Linked DNA regions of Homo sapiens: region 1 is linked to region 2. Evidence: promoter capture Hi-C in 16 types of primary human blood cells and fetal thymus (Javierre and others, 2016). All regions are on one chromosome and are shown on one strand. Each heading gives the region's core, a stretch centred on a gene start or on the middle of the fragment in contact. The rest is flanking DNA. Distances are from core to core; before and after follow the strand shown.

Evidence for each region. Contacts are between HindIII fragments. The CHiCAGO score rates a contact against its expected background, and 5 or more counts as called.
Region 1: a fragment that was not itself captured here is called in contact with the fragment with the promoter of PCDH9-AS3 in region 2 in 1 of 17 cell types (total B cells); the score reaches 5.7 in total B cells.

Annotation. Positions count from the first base shown.
Region 1 is chr13:66,689,852-66,692,551 of GRCh38, forward strand. All of the region lies in intron 3 of PCDH9 (protocadherin 9), which reads right to left. Among named protein-coding and RNA genes, the nearest start is that of PCDH9-AS2, 130 kb to the right of the region's middle. The HindIII fragment of the contact is 1,605 bases long and covers 649-2,253 here.
Region 2 is chr13:66,976,035-66,978,734 of GRCh38, forward strand. PCDH9-AS3 (PCDH9 antisense RNA 3) reads left to right here and starts at 1,355. Exons shown (of 3, transcript NR_046636.1): 1 at 1,355-1,497; 2 at 2,339-2,437. All of the region lies in intron 2 of PCDH9 (protocadherin 9), which reads right to left. The HindIII fragment of the contact is 7,912 bases long and covers 1-2,700 here.

The DNA.
Region 1 (2,700 bases), core at 201-2,700, 290 kb before region 2:
AAAAAGCAGGGCACAGACTTGAGTTTTATTGAATGTTTCTTGTCTTCTTTTTTATTTTTTAAAGACTATGCCTCGAGATATATCCTAAGTATTATCTTTTCAATTAAAAGAAATCTATCCTTTGAAAATTAAATACAGCTACTAAATTTGATGAGCATTATCTTAGTTACAGAATTGGACCACATTAAACCTACATAAATAAAAGCAAAGACATATGCCAGTAAAAGTGCACATAAATAAACCATGCAATAAGAAACAACTGCACAGAAATAAGCATTATGTATTATTCTCTTCTAAATAAACACAGTGCACTAAGTTATTTAACTTCTAGTATTTAAACAATACTTTTTTGATGGAGTAATGCAGTTTTTTTTGCATTTAAATAGTTCATCATCACGATATAGCAGGTAGGTGACATAAGTTCCTTAAGAAAATCTAAGTATGATATAGGCAAATATAGAATTGTCTAATTTTAAAGTTAGAAAAAAACTTCGAGGTAATCCTGACAAGGATTGATAGATTTTAAGTCTGAAGACTTCAGTGATGATTCAATTGTTCTTCAAACAAATACAAATGTAACCTATACAAAAGGTTACATTTGCTTGATATTAGGGTTAAAGAATCATAAGCCATCTTCTGCTCTCAAGAAGCTTACAGTGAAGGTGTGTAACAGACACACTACAAGGTTTAGTACAGAATAAAAAAAGGCTATGAAAACAGAGGGAAAGGCTCTAACCATAGCACACGTGGTATGTCAGAAAAGGCAATTTTAAAAGTCACTTAAACTGAAGTTTTAAGATCACCAAAGGAAATCATCATTTTACAGAAGTGGAACCTGAGTTGGCAAAGTAGTCCAGAGGATAGATGTCAAAATCAGGGTCAGAAATAAGTTTCCTGGTTTTATTCCCTGAATTCTTTCCACAGGAAAACATATTTCTAGGTGAAATATATATTAGTCTCTACTGAGAATGGAATTAAAGAGTCCCTGTGAATAATCTAACTACATGCTAGAATGCAAGCAAGACCTCTGTCCTCAACCACATCTCATGAACTGCCAGCAGTGTCACCAGCGTAAGCCTGAGACATATTGCACTAAAGTTTTAAATTATGTTAATATCCCCTTAAGTTTTAAATAATGTATTTTACCTAAACGTAAATCATTTTATTTTGTAAATTTTATTTATTTATTTATTTTATTTATTTTGAGATGGAGTCTCACCCTGTAGCACTGGCCAGAGTGCAGTGGCACCATCTTGACTCACTGAAACCTCTGCCACCCAGGTTCAAGCGATCCTCCCACTCAGCCTCCCAAGCAGCTGGAATTACAGGCTCCTGCCACCATGCCTAGCTAATTTTTGTATTTTTTAGTAGAAATGGTGTTTCACCATGTTGGTCAGGCTGGTCTCGAATTCCTGACCTCAAGTGATCCTCCTGCCTTGAACTCCCAAAGTGCTGAAATTACAGTCATGAGCCACCGCACCCGGCCAACATAAACATAAATCATTTTAAAGTGCTATGTACTTCCATTGACATAGTTAGAATAGCAGAATACTGAATTTCTTTTGTTATGGAGTACTTAAAGTATGCTAATAAACAACATCTAGTCCAATGTATTGTCAAAATATCTACTGTCTTTTGTTTCAATGATGTAAGATTGGACACAGTTAAATTTAAAAATACTTGATTTTTTTACTATTATTTTAACTTTTAATGTGATAAGCAATAGAAAAAAAATAAACATAGATGCCTTTGCCTCTGAAAATTATTATAATACCTGTCCTGATATCTCAGAAGAAAAATAAACTTAATCATTATAATCACCATTGAGAAAATGAACCCACGTATTTTTTACCTATTGAAATTGAGCTCTTTAGAAGAAAACAAGAACAAGATAAAGAATACATGCCTTATATTTGTAAAACTGTATTGAATACCAAAAATATTACATTGTGTTTACAAATTTCATATTATAGTCGTAATATTTGAAATCATGGTCAGTGCCTTTATTTCTTATCTCCAAAGACATGCTTATTATATATTGGAGTCCTTTGAAAATACTACTACCTACTTAAGCCTGGGCAATATCTGTTACACATGGAAAATAAATTTTTAGAAATCCACCATTATTCATCCAAATCTCTGGCTAGGTCATTTTGAGCTATGAGGCATTGTGCTTCTGTATCCTATTTACAACTTTACACATGGTGTATAAATCAGTTGCAAGTAGACTAGATGAGGAACATGCTATAACAAAGCTTCTTTGATATTAGCCTCTACATGGCATGAAGAAATTTTGTCAGTCTTCAATTTACCTCCATGTTATGAATTTGAAAGAGACATCCATTAACCTGGAAGAAAATTAAAATCTATAGCTTTATCATCAATGTAAGTCATGTTGAAATATTAGAGGGCAAATATTTCCATGATCACAATATATACATTATTGAAAAATAAAAAAAGCATTCCTTTACCCTGTTGGACTGAAGCATCATATTTGGTTTTGAAGACCTTTGCATAATTTAGTGTTCTTCATCTACAATAAGACACTCGAAAGGAAGTCTTGAGATGAAATAATATAATTATGTTCACTCTACAGCTATCGATTAAAGTTCACATGGTAGGAATGAATAAAAGAAAATAATGTTCTGAAATATTATTTTTGTTCTTAAGATATTTAATTACAATTCCAATGGAGCCAAT
Region 2 (2,700 bases), core at 105-2,604:
ATAGGGCCTTCAAGAAAATATTTCTGTTGAAAGATAGGGCATGTACAAAGTAAGACAGGAGACGGTCCCTCTGTCCTTTGAGGAAAAAAATACACAAAGTGTCTGCTGCCTACTGTCTCATCCAATCCATCTAACTGATATTCTTCAATTCTAAAATCCCCTCATTGGCAAACTACTTTTCAGTTGCATGCAGTTATTTATTTATTTTAGTTTTAAATATTGGAGGAAAAATATTGATTATTCATTTTAAGTAATTAATAGAAATGTATAGAAGATATGGTAGTAGTCTATGTAAAGTAGTCAATCTAAAGAACACATAAACTGGAGATGTATTTAAAGTTATACTGGGCAACTTTCATATGGGTATGGTTTGAGGATTATCTGAGCCCTTTGGGTGAAACTCATTTTCTCTATGGAATCTTTCAGTACCTGAATTTTTTCCAGTAAAATAACTCTTTGAGTTTCAAATGACTTTTCATAAATAAACTGTAGATCACCCTCCATAAGACACATGTCTTATTACCATACATACAATATTTTACTGGGAGTAGCAATTCCATAAACCCAACAAGGCTCAAGACCAATATGAACAACAGAAGTCAATACTTAGGCAAGGCAGGTAGAGCTAGGATCAGAACAAGCGCCTTTAGGTGGAAGTCAGGGTAGATGGGAAAAACAGATACAAACTGTAATTTGTCATTTGTATGACCTGTATCTAGTCCAGGATATTACACTTTATCTGTAATCAAGTAAGAAAAATAAGGATAAATCTGATGTTTGGGAAAGTGCAGAGAGTTTATTTTACCTTTGTTTTTATCCATAGGACCACCTTTATTATCATTTTTTCATTGTATAATTCCTGAGGGTAAAGATAAAATCATAAAATCAGGCTTCTGAAATTTGAAACTAATTTTAGATTTTTGTTTTCCATTTAAACACTAATGTTGAAAAGCAGACCACTGCTCTGCACCCCAGTGATCCAAAGACTTAGTCTGTCATCTTTAAATGCTTTTCCTTACTTACCAGAGACCTTTAATAGGTTTGGGTTGGGTCATTTTATTTCTCATTCTGTTAATAGATTATCTTTATACTTCTCCCTCTGTGATAATTAATAAATAATATTTTGCTCTTTTTGAATGGTACACCTTTATATGTTTAGAATATATACCATCTATATGCTTGACATTTGGGGGATCTCGTCTAATTTTCAAAGGAAGAAGAAAAATCTGGCTTGCAGGGTGTTTAGAGTACGGTGATGACAGCCTTTATGCCAATTTCACAAGCATTGCAGCCTGAATCATAGGCTGTACTATAAACGGCAGCATATGGCTGGAGAGTCATAGCAGCAGGATAACGTGGTAGTGCCCAGATCACAGCTGTAGGCACATAAAGAAAGTTTTGATGCTGGTATCCATATCCCTCCTTCTCATCAACAACAAAAAGGATGACTACTTAAGATTCTGTTGTCTTAAAGGCTTTATTAAGTTATTGCCCAAGGTAGGAAAGGGATATTATTGTCTACATATGTTTGCCAGAATCATGCAGCTTCTCTATTCTGGCTTTCCGAGCAGGTGTCTCTTTAAGTACTTATTCTAAATGGAACACAACTGGGCGACATCAGAAAGGGCACTGTTGACAACTGTCATAGCAGGTTCCAGCTTGAATGGTAACTGAGCAGAAGGTATCTCTCCAGAGTACTTCAGATCATCCTAAAAGCAGCATCATTTCCACCAGGAACCCAGCTTCTACCAGAAAAGAGTGCTGGGAAATGGTGCTTCTGGTAAAATCTGATCTCCTCAGTGGAAATGCTCTATCCCACCAGATTTCGCATAGAAAATAGCTACAAGGCAATTAAAGGAATGCCGATTTTAAAGGCAAAAATATAATGTTTAGAGGAAGCACATAATGCAGACAGATGTTAATAATGTTAAGTGAAAATTTGCTAAATATTTTTTCATACCTGTTGTATCCCTTAAAACACTTTAAAGCCCTTTCGTAAGTGAAAAGAAACACTAAAATGTTCAATTGTTTAATTAGACATATAAAAGATTAATTTACCAGATAAGAGAAATGATGTTTTCAAGGTATAGTTTCAGGTTATTGATAGTTTGTTATTGTCTTGCATTTTAATTCTTGTTAGTTTGGAGTTTTGTTGTTGTTGCTGTTATTGTTGCTGTCACTGACCATAAGAAAATGGGAGAATTATGTTCAGATGCTGAAATTCAGGAGCCAATTTAAATGATAATTTTCAGATAGATCTTGTAAGGTATTTAGGGTAAAGTAACTCTGCAAACCAAATACAAAAAAAAAACAAACACTGATTTTTCTCCTTGCTTAGGATTATCCATCTGCAAAATAAAAGCAATTGCAATTTCTGCATGACTGCAAGAAAAATAGATACTATTCCTTAGTATGCTATTTTACAAGTTTCTTAAAGGTACCTATTGTGCAGATATATGTGATTAAAAAGTAAAATTTATTATGAGACATTCACATATGCTCCTATTTTAGTTTTTCTACATAGACTACAAAATATAATTATTCAGACTTCTTTTGTAGAAGTATGTGAATTATAGATCAGAGATTTATGTAAGGATTTATATATGGATTGCTTCTTTTCTTAGTTTATGCTACTATCTTCTATAAGAATATATATATTATATATAATTGTATAATATGTTGTTTCATAAGAATACATAA